5 separate regions of the Homo sapiens genome follow, and regions 1, 2, 3 and 5 are each linked to region 4. The links are contacts of gene promoters, found by promoter capture Hi-C in blood cells and fetal thymus (Javierre and others, 2016). All regions are on one chromosome and are shown on one strand. The core of a region is centred on a gene start or on the middle of the fragment in contact, and the rest is flanking DNA. Distances in the headings are between cores, read along the strand shown. Region 1 has its middle 38 kb from the start of PTH2R. Region 2 has its middle 21 kb from the start of PTH2R. Region 3 overlaps PTH2R (parathyroid hormone 2 receptor). Region 4 holds the start of MAP2 (microtubule associated protein 2). Region 5 overlaps LOC105373855 (a long non-coding RNA gene).

Region 1 (2,700 bases), core at 54-2,553, 1.1 Mb before region 4:
TTGCCCAAGTTGGAGTGCAATGGTGCAGTCTCTGCTCACTGCAGCCTCTGCCTCCTGGGTTCAAGCGATTCTCCTGCCTCAGCCTCCTGAGTAGCTGAGATTACAGGCACATGCCACCATGCCCAGCTAATTTTTCTATTTTTAGTAGAGACAGGGTTTCGCCATGTTGGCCAGGCTGGTCTCGAACTCCTGACCTCAGCCTCCCAAAGTGCTGAGATTACAGATGTGAGCCACTGCACCTGGCTTCACTCCTTCAAATTTAATTCAGCTAAAGTTTTTATTTTTTTCTCTTTCTTTTTTTTTTTTTTTTTTGAGACAGAGTCACTGTCACCCAGGCTGAAGTGCAGTGGCACAATCTCGGCTCACTGCAACCTCCGCCTCCCAGACTCAAGCGATTTCTGGCTAATTTTTGTGTTTTTAGTAGAGATGGGTTTTCACCATATTGGCCAGGCTGATCTTGAACTCCTGACCTCAGGTGATCTGCCTGCCTTGGCCTCCCAAAGTGCTAGGATTACAGGCATGAGCCACTGTGCCCAGCCTCAAATTTAAGAAGAAACAGTTAACATGGACTTGCATACCTCCAGGATATTGTGAATACCTCTCAATATTTTTCTAAGTTCTCAAAGTCAAATTAGACTCTATGACAATCACTCAAGGTTCCCTTTGTTTCCAATATGTTGATGACCTGCTACTTTGCAACCAAAGCAAACAGGGTGCTCTTCTGGACTCCCTTACTCACCTTAAGGCACTGACTGACTAAGGTTATAAATCTTCCAGGTCCAAATGCCAACAGGTACAAAAAATTCTTACCTACTTAGGCCATAAAATATTTTAGGGTACTCAAAAACTCGTCCCAAAATGCCTTGAATCAATTTTATTCATTATCTCTCAAAGACAAACAATTACGTGAATTTTTAGGAGCAACTGGATATTGCCAATGGATTCCCAATTTTGCTGCCCATGTCTAACCTTTATATGCTGTCCTCTTAGATACAACCACAGAGCACTTTACCTGGTACTCTGAGGCACCAGCCTCCTTGGAAGCATTGTCCACACCCCAGCCCTTCGACTACCCAACTTTGACAATCTTTTTTACCTATATTACTGTGAAAATGATGGGATTGTTGTGGGTATCTTAGGACAATCTTTTTGTCCCATAACATATTTCTCATGTCAACCTAGATATGTCCCACAGTACCTTTCTCATGTTAAGTAGCATCAGGCATTCCTCCATGCTTATATGCAATAGACTTAGCTGCCATCCTAATTGACAAAGCAAGTATTCTTATACTGCCCCACCATTCACCTCTCTGTTCTCCATGCTGTTCCTCTACATTGGTATCCCTTTCAAAGTGGATCTTGCCTCAACTAACCCTTAACTGTTTTTTTTTTGTTTTTGTTTTTTGTTTTTTGACAATTCTGGCACTACCCCAACACCTGCTTGTTCCAATCTTTCAAAGCCTGGCCACCTTAAATAGTTAATCTGGTTACTGGTTAGGTTAACATCTACATAATGCAGAAGAGTTTTTGTTCCTACCAATGTAAATATACCTGGTGAACCCATTCTGGACAATGGATATATAAAAGCATATGGTATCCATAAGCAGGAAGACAAAGTCACTCTGTCTCCTCCTCTGGTAGATTAATTTGGCACTGGGAAGCCTCCATGGAAGCTCAAGGTCAGTGCTTTACCCAAGTAAGACTATTGGAAGGAAATCTCTCTACATTGAAAATAAATACAGTACTGGACCTTTTCTGGGTAACATTTCAAAAATGTATTGCAATCAAATTCTGTGATTTGGCTTCACAGATGGCACTAAACAACCCTCCACTGTCATTGTTACTTGGATTATAACTAAGTATTTCAATGTGAGTGAATGTCAGATTACAGGATAATATTCCTGGTTTGTAGGAAAAAGTAGTGGGATATGGAATAGCTCAAGTGTTCCCCTAGTTGGCTTGACCAGCACCCATGACTATAGTTGGATGGATGGACCTTAACTTGGTCAATAAATAAAATACATTTCTATAGTAACCAAGGCTAAATTAAAGGGTTTCTCTGCCAGGTGTTTCACAACCTGTTTTACCCTCATAGCCTAACAGAAGCACATTGGAAGTGAAGATGTGCAGATGCCAACATGATTGATGATAAGGGTTGTGAAAGACACAGAATTCCAACTTGGTTGTTCACAGGTTCCACCACTATGACCTTGTCTGTAAACAACACTGGTCTCTCTCTCTTTTTTTTTTTTTTTAGAAGGAATCTCACTCTGTTACCCAGGCTGGAGGGCAGTGGCACAATCTCAGCTCACTGCACCCTCCACCTTCCGGTTCAAGCGATTCTCCTGCCTCAGTCTCCCGAGTAGCTGGGAGTACAGGTGCCCACCACCATGCCCGGCTTATTTTTGTAGTTTTAGTAGAGACAGGATTTCTCCATGTTGGCCAGGCTGGTCTTCACCTCAAGTGATCCGCCAGCCTCGGCCTCCCAAAGTGCTGGGATTACAAGCGTGAGCCACTGTGCCTGGCCTGGTCTCATTTTTATGTAGCAATAAGATATATAAAAGGTTCCCACCTAAGTGGTCAGAGAAATGTGAAGTTGGATATCTGGTGCCTTCCCTTACCAGATATCCCACTTTGAATGCTAGCCACATTACAACTGGGGTTCTTTTATATATAAATTAATGCCATGTAGATGCACCT
Region 2 (2,700 bases), core at 120-2,619, 1.0 Mb before region 4:
AAACAAGTGCAATAGCAGTTTAGCAAAGTGAGTTCAGTGTAGGCTGAACTGGTTAGAGCAGGTTTCCGGGTGAAGGTGAGGATTGGTGAGGGTTTGGATTGGTAGAAAGAGACGGGGAGGACATCTCACATCAAGAAGTTATGCCAGTGGATTTCAGGAGAATTGAGTGTTTGTGTCTGAAAAGCCTGTAAGAATAGGGCATGACAGTGTGGAGAAATGCATGAAAGTATGAAGGATCGTGATATCCAGTTTGAGGAGTGCTAACTAGAGGCTCTGAAGATTTGAGAAGAAACATAATGAAAGGTGTTCTCAGCCTGATCTTGGTATGCAGGACTGGTAAACCCCAAACACCTTACCATTCTATTACCTCTCCCTCAAGGAATGGGTCCCTTGATAAGAATTTAGTGTAAAAAAGATTGTCAATTCAGTGCTGCTGCTGAGTGCTAGTTTCTTTAAACACACACAGTTTTCTTTTGAGAATTTTTTTTCTATTAGATAGACGAACTGTTATTTAAATGAAAAAGGCACATAGTCCCATAAAACAATTACACATTCGGGTGATAACTTCAAAAGGAGAAATTAAAATGTTCTTATGTTTTGAGCAAGCATTTCCACTTCCAGACTTTGCTGCATAAACATCTGTGGTCATCTAGGGAATGCCTGACCTGGTTCAGAGGTGTCAGAGCAATGTAAAGTCACGGAAGTGCTGCAGTTCTATTCTGGGCTCTCATCTTTTTGCAGCGGTCCATTCTCTAATTTTCAACCACATATTACCAGACAATCTCTTAAGTCATACACAACAAACTGATTCTGTTTCAATGCTTAGAATTAGAATAAAAAAGCCTAAGCAAAAATAGCACAAACATTTGAAAAACACTCCTTTTTTCTACCACTCCCTTCTTAGAACAGAAATAAAAGCCCTGTACTTTAAGAAAATGGATGGAAGAATTTTCTTTGTACTTCTTATTCTCCAAGTTACATTTACTACCTGATAGTGTTAATACCTTTTTGTAGTACCTTTCTTTAAAATATACAGGGAAATGATCTGTTCCAAGAAACTGTGTTTTTAAATTTAATTATAGTGTGCTATGATGATTTAAAAAATGGCCTTTTGAGTAAAGGACACGAACAAGTTATTTAAAAAGTGAGCAGTAAGTGTGGTCAGTAAACACATCAAAAAGTTCCCTTCACTAATATTCAAAGAAATGCAAATTAGAATAATAATACCCTTGTTGCTTGTCAAATTAATACTTTAACAATTATTATGTAAATTTTATGGATAGGATTGCAAATCAACACACCTTTCCTGGCCACTGGTGTACATAATAGAAATTCTAAAAATGTTCTTAGGCTTGACCAAGCATTTCCACTTCTAGACTTTGCTGCACAAAGATCTGTGGTCATCTAGGAGAAGGCTTGACCTGGTTCAGAGGTATCAGAGCAATGCAAAGTCATGAAAATGCTGCAATTCTATCCTGGACTGTCATCTTTTTTGTAGTGGTCCATTCTCTAATTTTTCAATGACGTAGTACCAGACAGTCTCTTAAGTCAAATGTATTTGTAGGGCTCTGGATTTGAAATTCAATCTGGCTTTCAGCCTTGATGTGGCCACTCCCAACTTGTAAAGGACCTGTGAAGACTTAGACACAGAATAAAACACAGAAGATAAGAAAACCAACTTTGAAAGAAAATTTATTGTCAAAATTGTACTGGGTCAATTGAGCAAAAACTTCAAAGAGCGTTTTCATATTAACCAAAGCATCCCTCCTCAATTGAAACATATAAAGATATTGTTCACCCCTATCCTGACTCAGAGATCCACAAATCTGGGCATTCATCATCACCATATTCTGCTGGCAATAGTTTTAAGCAGCTAAATTACTGTTCTCTACTCTTGAGTTTCCTCCATCTCTTCAGATACAGAAAGTTCTAGAATATATTCAAATAATCAAATCTTTAATTCATTCCATATATCTGGCTCAAGACAGTGTCCCAATAACCTTATTCTAGAGAAAGTCAGATTTAGACTTGTGCTCATCATCATACTCATGTTCTTGACATCATTTTAAGCTCTGAGGAGACATCTCACATAACTCTCATTGATACGTGTATACATCTGTCACTCTGTGTTTGTGCTGTGATGGATGGACTTGGATGTAGATATGCATAGATGATGAAGCAGATAGCTATATATATGGTATTGATGTAGATTCAGTACAGCTGTATAATTGCATCTGTGTTTCACATATCTTGTGTACTGTATCTTGACTGTATCTGTGTCAATACCTAATTGAGTTATAAGGCATAAATATGTGGAGCTCTTAGCACAATACCTGGCACACTGCAATCAGTCGATGTATGTGTTTGTGTGTGTGCGTGTGTGTGTGTGTGATACAGACAGAACCTGCTAATATGCATAATAGTCAGGTTGGGTTGTTATAACAAAATACTATAGACTGTGTGGCTTAAACGGCAGACATTTGTTTCTCACAGTTCTGGAGTCTGGGAAATCCAAGGTCAAGATTAGTTTCTGGTGAGAGCAGTCTTCCTCTTTTGCAGCTCCCCATGGTTTGCAAATCACAGATTTCTCGCTGTATTCTCACATAGTGTAGGAGGAACAGAGGGAGGGAAGGGAGGAAGTGCCTAAGGACACTAATCCCATGATGAGAGTTCTATCCACCATGACCTAATTACCTCCTA
Region 3 (2,700 bases), core at 186-2,685, 1.0 Mb before region 4:
TACAGAAAAAAAGTGATAAAGTTTAACACCCATCCATGAAAGAAATTCTTAATAAAATAAGCATAAAAGGGAACATTTACTTTGAAAAAAGGTACTTAGAAAATATTATCATAAAAATTATACTAAATGAGGTAGTTAGAAATATTCCACTTAAAGGGAGAAATAAGATAAAAAATTTCATAGTTTTCTGGTTTATCTTTGAGTTTTGTTTTACAAAAATGTATCTGTATATTTTCCCTCTTTTTTTGCACAAAAGGTAGCATTCAATTTATACTCTCTGCATTTTGTTTTTCTTACTTCACAATACATCCTGGAAATCATGTTAGGTCATAGAGTTTTCTCACTCTTTTTTATAGCTTCATAATAGCCTATTTTGTAGAAGTACCAAATGTGTGGGCATTTAGTTTTTTCTATCTAATATTTTACATGTATAAATAATACTACACTGTATAGTCTTTATGTATTTTCATATTGTTGAAGCTATAACTTAAATGTAAATCCCTAAAAGTGAAGTCAATCCTTTGGGTATATACCCAGTAATGGGATGGCTGGGTCAAATGGTATTTCTAGTTCTAGATTCCTGAGCAATCGCCATACCAACTTCCACAATGGTTGAACTAGTTTACAGTCCCACCAACAGTGTAAAGGTGTTCCTATTTCTCCACATCCTCTCCAGCACCTGTTGTTTCCTGACTTTTTAATGATTGCCATTCTAACTGGTGTGAGATGGTATCTCATTGTGGTTTTGATTTGCATTTCTCTGATGGCCAGTGATGCTGAGCATTTTTTCATGTGTTTTTATTTGCTGTGTAAATGTCTTCTTTTGAGAAGTGTCTGTTCATGTGCTTCGCCCACTTTTTGATGGGGTTGTTTGTTTTTTTCTTGTAAATTTGTTTGAGTTCATTGTAGATTCTGGATATTAGCCCTTTGTCAGATGAGTAGGTTGCAAAAATTTTCTCCCATTCTGTAGGTTGCCTGTTTACTCTGGTGGTGGTTTCTTTTGCTGTGCAGAAGCTGTTTAGTTTAATTAGATCCCATTTGTCAATTTTGGCTTTTGTTGCCATTGCTTTTGGTGTTTTAGACATGAAGTCCTTGCCCGTGCCTATGTCCTGAATGGTATTCCCTAGGTTTTCTTCTAGGGTTTTTATGGTTTTAGGTCTAACATTTAAGTCTTTAATCCATCTTGAATTAATTTTTGTATAAGGTGTAAGGAAGGGATCCAGTTCAGCTTTCTACATATGGCTAGCCAGTTTTCCCAGCACCATTTATTAAACAGGGAATCCTTTCTCCATTGCTTGTTTTTTAAATCATGCTGCTATAAAGACACATGCTCACGTATGTTTATTGCGGCACTATTCACAATAGCAAAGACTTGGAACCAACCCAAATGTCCAACAATGATAGACTGGATTAAGAAAATGTGGCACATATACACTGTGGAATACTATGCAGCCATAAAAAATGATGAGTTCCTGTCCTTTGTAGGGACATGGATGAAGCTGGAAACCATCATTCTCAGCAAACTATTGCAAGGACAAAAAACCAAACACCGCATGTTCTCACTTATAGGTGGGAATTGAACAATGAGAACACATGGACACAGGAAGGGGAACATCACACACCGGGGACTGTTGTGGGGTGGGGGGAGTGGGGAGGGATAGCATTAGGAGATATACTTAATGCTAAATGACGAGTTAATGGGTGCAGCACAGCAACATGGCACATGTATACATATGTAACAAACCTGCACATTGTGCACATGTACCCTAAAACTTAAAGTATAATAATTAAAAAAAAAAGAAAAAAAAAGTGAAGTCAAAAGATAAATGTACATTTAGGACTTTTTCAATTTTGCCTATTTCTTCTCCATAGCAGTGGAAACATTTTACATTCCCATGAGCATTGTATGAGGCTATTTTTTCCACACATATTTGCCAGCAGAATGTTGCTCTCAATTTTTTTTTGCTAATGAAGTAGTCTTAATATATTTGACCTTACTTTAGCTCAAAATACTATATTGCACTTAATTTATAATTAACTTAAAATTTAATTGGTGTTTTTCATGGTTATAGTCATTAAACTAAACAATTCCTTAAAAACTTTAGCAGATGAATTTTTAAAAATCTGTATTTTGAGAGAATTATAGATTCACATGCAGTGTAAGAAGTAATACAGACACTAAATACCTTTCACGTAGTTTCTTTCAATGGTAACATCTTTCATTACTGTAGTACAATATTACAATCAGGAAATTGACATTGATATAATCCCTCTGTCTTATGCAGATTCCATTGGTTTTATACATACTTGTGTGTGTGCACATGTATTTAGTTTATGCAGTTTTATCACATGTAAAGTTGCATGTGATCACCACCACAGTGAAGATATACAATAGTTCCAGCACAGGAATCCTTTCATAGCCACAACCACTTACTTCTCCCTTCCCTGCAACACCTGGCAACTACTAATTGGTTTTTTGTCTCTGTAATCATTATATGACTCTTAAAAATTTAACCGTGCTTTGTTTCTAAGTATAATTGGAGCTCTATAAATATCTATAATAAATTCACATGTAGTTAATTAAAATATAAGAGAAAAGGATGAGTAATAGCTTTGAAGGATGACAGCTCAATGTGATCGCATTCTTAATGTTTTCATTTAACTGTGTATGAGCCATACCACAGATAGATACAAGTTTTT
Region 4 (2,757 bases), core at 256-2,755:
TCCTCCAACCTCCCAGCTCCTGGGTGTGCCTTGATACTTCCAAACTCACTGCAAGCGTCACTGGCACATGGTATGAAGCAGAGCGGGGGAGGCAGGACACAGAGCACTGGGTGTGACTGGGGAGGGCAGGCTTTCACAGCTTCCTCTGTGATGGTTTCTAATCCTTGCAGGCTCCCACCATTGGGTCTCTTTCCATCTGAAAATGGAGGAAATTAGACCAGCTGCCTAAAACATCAACTCTAATGTTCTAGGTTCTAAGATTCTGTGGTTAATTTAAGTGACAGAACCACATTATGGCTGCTGTTTCATCAGCACTGTGAAGACTGTACAAGCCACACCTCAGTATGTTGGCTGACCTTAAAAACACCTTGTCAGTACTTGATATAGACACTCGAAGTAATTCTAAGTTGCATCTTACTTTTCTTACTTACAATAAAATGCTGCTCTCTGATTATGAAGATTCATACTCCTTAGTACGAATGGTAAAGAATCATTTGTTTTCTCAGGTGGTCATTTCACTTTCAAAAGCATTTAAGAGGCAATTTTTTTAAGGGTGATATTTCAAGGTCAACACTTTCCGTGCTTTCTAATTCATTGTATTTGTATCATTCTTCAAAGATCCTTCATATTCATTATCTTTTTAAGCATAAGAGAATTGGGCTGTCATTTTTAGTTCTCATATGACACATGAATACACTGAGAGTTAGATTAAGTGAACTGTCTCTAGAGCATACGTCTGGCTATCTAGAATGTAATAACTATAAAGGGAGGGGATCTTTCTTATTAGGGTTGTGGGAAAGGTCTGTCACTGATGTTTCTAATGCTTAGAAGAGTGCCTGACACATAGTAGGTGTCAATAAACATTCGTTGACTCAATAAATGAATGAATCTAATTCGTGACAGAGCTGGGTCTAGAATTCTCTACTCCCTCAGCCATTGCTCCTTTAGTGCTGACAAGAGTTGTTCTATGTTCTCAAGCGCCCCACATTCCTTTGTCTTTTCTGGATGCACCTGTGGTTGGGTTTGTGAGGCGAGGCCAGTGAGCTTTCCTGGTGAGGTGCCACTGGCAACCCCGCCTCATAGCGACACAGGGGAGGGAAGCAGGGGGTCTGCGGAGGTTGCTCCCGAGAGACTAAAGCTGTTGCCCCCGATTTTCCAAGGACGCCAGTGAGGAAGGCCCGCCTGTCCCGCCGCCCGGGCACTGGCCTCACTTTGTCGCGGGAGGGGACCAGGGCTCTGGAGAAGGCCCGGGCCAGCGGCTGGGCGGGGCTCTCCGAGGCTCCCACCTCGCGGTCCCCGCCTGGCGGCCGGCGGCTGCGGCAGAAGGCGAAGCGGTCGTGCTCCCCCTCCCGGACACTGCGGCGGTGGCAGCGCCAGCCCCGCCGCGGCCGCCCACGGGCTCGCGGAGTCTGGCGGGACCTGCGCGGGGCGGGACCTGCGCGGGGCGGGGAGGAGGGGCCGAGGCGGAGCTGCTGCGCTGGGAGCCGGCTGGGGGCGCCGCTCTCAGTCTGGGGCGGGCGCTCGGGCTGCGCGGGCTCTGGGCAGCAGCAGCAGCAGCAGCAGCATCCTCTCTTCCTTTACTTCCCTTCCGCTTCTTTCTCTTCCTTCTCCTTCTTTTTCCCCCCCCTCCCCTTCTTCCCCTAACCCTTCTACCCCTCTCCTTTTTCTCCGGAGGGCGCTAAGTCCGTGAGCGGTGGCAGTCGCGACCGCGGGTGCATCCAGTTTCTGCGCCCAGGTAAGAGACCGTCCCCACCTCTGGCTCTATGTAGGGCGCCTCTCCTTTTGCCTCGGTCTCTGAGTAGAAAGAGATAGGAATGGGGAGGGGTTGTGTCTCGTCCTCTGGGACTCGCAGCAGGCAGTCTGGTAGTTGGTCGAGTGGCCAGCCGTGCACCTGGCGGAAGATTCGGGCCTGTCCTCTCCAGGTGTCACTGCGGAGCAGGGGGCCGGACGCTACTGGTACCTGAGCCCTGGCTTCGTAGAAGAGCGAGTGAGCTTGTTAGGTACCACTTTGAAACAACTGAAAACTTACGCCAGGTTAGAATACGTGTATCGAAAGCCAGTATTACCTGCGCTGTGGAAAGAAGGGGAGTGGATTCTACAAAGATAGTGGAAAATAGGAAATCGAGGTAGGGGATTTTTTTGTTCATCCAGCTGCAGAGAACTGCACACTGGGAAGTGAGTGAGTGAGGGAAGCCTTGTCCATTTCAAATCATGTTTCTCTGTAATTCCTTCAGAAACAGCTGGGAGAGGAGGACTGATATTTATAATTGTAGGAAAATGAAAAATAAATGCCTGGTGGTGTTGGAGGGCGGGGCACGAAGAAATGAGTCTGGTTAGGCTTCCACACAGTCGTTTTTCTTTTTAAACGTTGGGGGTGGACCTCTGAATCTACAGTGCATCTATTCTTTTCTTCCTTTTCTTTTTAAAAGGCTTTTTTGGTGGGGAGAGGAGGACTGCAGTGCTGGCTGCCTGCCTTCCCCCACCTCGTCTTTTGTTTAAGGATGGAAATTTCAAGAAAGAGTGTGTGGGGGGCTAGGAGTGGGGAGCTGTATATTTGGGTGTGTATAGGGGGAGGGGTATGGATGGAGTCAGAAAAAAAATCCTTGAAAACTGGAAATTAATGTTATTCTGCCTGGCATCCGGACTTCAGGATTTTTGTCAGAAAATAAAAAGCTTTCATTAGCAACAAGCCCGTTTGTGACAATTGCTGTGTGCCATCTGTCGTAAGCTCTTAGCACAATGCTTCCAGGACATAGA
Region 5 (2,700 bases), core at 17-2,516, 1.0 Mb before region 4:
GTTCCTCTCCACTGCACCTGTTCTACAAGAGCCAACAGAACACTTTTTCCTACAAAAACATTTTTGTATCACAGCCATTTGGTGGCACATGACTGGCTACCATACCATTCATTGCAATGCCATGTCTTAGCCAGGCTTTGAGGGACCCCAGTTCCTGCTACTCCTCACTTTCCTATTTTTACCAACAAGGCAGTTTTCTTCCTGTTTTTGCACATTATATAAGTCACCCAGTTTCTTGGTGTGCTTTTGCCATTCAAAACACTTAAAAATGCCCTTTCCCTTTGTCATAGCTTCTGAGAAGCTTTGCAGATTTTCTCACTATCCTGGAAGACTTCTTCAAGTAACCTTAGCCTCAAAGTAATCAGTCCCTCCCTCTGCAGCCTGTAGCTATTTTTATATTATGTTATTTTGTCCATGTTGATATTTTGCTTTGTCATATAAATTCTTTAGGAGAAAACCAGTATGTTCCATTTTTTGTTGTTTTTATCAATATTTACTTTTTACAGTGGTCTTTCTTGTCTAGAAAGTACCTAGTATAAATTGCTAACAAAATGTCATAGCTCCCTACATCTTAAAAAGTCCTCAATCAAATTTTATTTTTCAAGGTTTCTTGTACTTATTTTAAGTGATAAAGAAACAACTAGATTGACATTTTCAATGTTCCTTCCTAATCCATCTCCAAATTAAAGGGTTGTTACTTATCTAGGTGAAATTTCTCTTTCTTGTGGTATTTGGTACATTCTTGGGAGCATATGCCTTCGTGTGCTGAAAGACTCAACATAAATTGCTCATAGATATGTCATACTGCCTGTAATGTTGAGTGATCCTTTGGTTTAACAAGGATTAAAAATGTAATTCTATTGGGAACTTATCTCTGTGGGGAAATGAGAAAATGAATGAGAAGGTGCTTAGTACATCTGTGAAGTTCTATGGAAATGCTAAAGCGCATTCTATAGGGGCACGGTAGAATAGTAGAAAAAGTGATAAATGTGGAAACAGAAGACCTAAGCTGAAGTCTTCACTGGCTGCCGTGTGTCCTTCTGCACATCATTTAGCTTCTTTCTGAGTTATAGTTTCCTCATCTAAATAGGTACTACCCCTAAAATGGATATTTTAGTTTATGTATCTCTAAGGCTTGTTTGGGGAATCAGGATATTTTGCTGGATGCAAATATTTTGCAGAATGTAGATTTATGAAAGAAATTGGTTAAAATATGTTAAAAATATGAGCTATTGTTATAGCCAGCAAATTATAGCCATTTAATCCATGATATTGGCTAGTTCAGTCAGACGTTTTCCATGGAGGCAGTAAGATTTTCATGATTAGAATTTTTTTATTGAGGAAATATGCTATACATATGTAGGGATGATTTAAGTATTGGGAAGAAGTTAAATGATTTTTTCACATACTAAAATCCTATGGGATTTCTAGAGAAGACTTGCAGCTCTCCTAAATTCTTGACAGAAGAGTGTGTCAACTCTGAGAAAGCCATTTAATTTTAGAAAGACAAAATGGAGGTACAAAAAGCAGAAGGGGCTATTTGTCCAGTTAGCATTTGGACAGGATTAAATCCTGGTGCTAACTGATCTAACAATTAATGAAATCACATTGCTCTCACATCAGATGCTAGCAGCTAGATTTCACACTGCAAGCACGGGAGTTCAATGACAGGATGGTGTTCAGTTATTATTGGTGTGTAGCAAGCTACCCCCAATCTTAATGACTTAAAGTAAGTACAACCACTTACATAGCTCAGAAATCTGTAATTTGGACAGGCTCTTCTCTGCTTAAGTTGGTATCAACTGAGGCAGCTGAGCTTGGGTTAGAGGATTCAGTTCCAACATGGCTCATTCATAGGGCTGATGAGTTGCCACTGGTTGTTGCCTGGAACAGTGGTTAGGATTGAGACCTGAGATCTTCAGTTGCCTGCACTGGGCTTCTCTATGGGCGTCTCAGACTTCCTCACAGCATGGTGGCTAAATTCCAAGACTGAAAGGAAGTCCTAGAGCCTAGAAGTAGAAGCTGCCAGTTTCTTAAGGCCAGAGTTTATTTCCACTATATTCTATAGGTCAAGCAGTCATAGAGCCCATAATCATGGGAAGGAGACATAGGCCCTCACCTCTCAATGAAAAGTGTGTGTCCAAGAGTTTTGGGGGCATATTTTAAAACCTCTACAGTCAGAGAGTGTAAGGGGAGAACAGAGAGAAGAAGAACATTAAGTCTTAGGAGGACAAGCTTGAGTTGGGGCTGTTAGTTGGCTACTGAGAAGAAAGTTCTCATCTAATTATTTGAGAAACAAAGACAGAACATTGGTAATTTAACAAGTAGGGCAGTGTAGATTTAAGAGAGAGGAAATGGCATGGTACCAAGCACATAAGTCCAACTTCTTAATTTTCTTCAGGCTTTATCTTGACTGAGGTGGGCCTTGAATTTAACAATTTTCTTTAATCCTCAGTAGGGAAACTTTAAGATTGGCGATTGCTTCCTTTTCATTATTTTCCCTTAAGCTACAAATTAATTACTGAGTATTTCCATAATAGGCTTTGCATATTAATAATTATAAATGGAATGTAATAGTGTATATGAAAGTATTTTGCAAATACCAAGCTTACTGTCATTTGTATAACTGTACAGCTGATAAAAGTTTCCTCGACATTGTCATTATCTCATTTAATTGTTACACGGGCCTTATGAGGCAAC

The links. Contacts are between HindIII fragments. The CHiCAGO score rates a contact against its expected background, and 5 or more counts as called.
Region 1: a contact is called between a fragment that was not itself captured here and the fragment with the promoter of MAP2 in region 4, in 6 of 17 cell types (endothelial precursors, M0 macrophages, megakaryocytes and 3 more). The highest score is 7.3, in endothelial precursors.
Region 2: a contact is called between a fragment that was not itself captured here and the fragment with the promoter of MAP2 in region 4, in 6 of 17 cell types (M2 macrophages, M0 macrophages, M1 macrophages and 3 more). The highest score is 17.3, in M2 macrophages.
Region 3: a fragment that was not itself captured here is called in contact with the fragment with the promoter of MAP2 in region 4 in 2 of 17 cell types (M2 macrophages and megakaryocytes); the score reaches 5.9 in M2 macrophages.
Region 5: a fragment that was not itself captured here is called in contact with the fragment with the promoter of MAP2 in region 4 in 6 of 17 cell types (M0 macrophages, erythroblasts, M2 macrophages and 3 more); the score reaches 21.3 in M0 macrophages.

The regions. Positions count from the first base shown.
Region 1 is chr2:208,367,131-208,369,830 of GRCh38, forward strand. It overlaps a transcript of PTH2R not described here. Among named protein-coding and RNA genes, the nearest start is that of PTH2R, 38 kb to the right of the region's middle. The HindIII fragment of the contact is 6,349 bases long and covers 1-2,700 here.
Region 2 is chr2:208,384,138-208,386,837 of GRCh38, forward strand. It overlaps a transcript of PTH2R not described here. Among named protein-coding and RNA genes, the nearest start is that of PTH2R, 21 kb to the right of the region's middle. The HindIII fragment of the contact is 3,994 bases long and covers 1-2,700 here.
Region 3 is chr2:208,418,501-208,421,200 of GRCh38, forward strand. All of the region lies in intron 1 of PTH2R (parathyroid hormone 2 receptor), which reads left to right. Among named protein-coding and RNA genes, the nearest start is that of PTH2R, 13 kb to the left of the region's middle. The HindIII fragment of the contact is 3,446 bases long and covers 1-2,700 here.
Region 4 is chr2:209,422,542-209,425,298 of GRCh38, forward strand. It overlaps MAP2 (microtubule associated protein 2), which reads left to right and starts at 1,506. Exons shown (of 16, transcript NM_001375505.1): 1 at 1,506-1,735. RefSeq lists a silencer at 1,187-1,576. The HindIII fragment of the contact is 4,087 bases long and covers 1-2,671 here.
Region 5 is chr2:208,401,924-208,404,623 of GRCh38, forward strand. The region is part of intron 1 of LOC105373855 (a long non-coding RNA gene); the gene reads right to left. It also overlaps a transcript of PTH2R not described here. Among named protein-coding and RNA genes, the nearest start is that of PTH2R, 3.5 kb to the right of the region's middle. The HindIII fragment of the contact is 1,934 bases long and covers 300-2,233 here.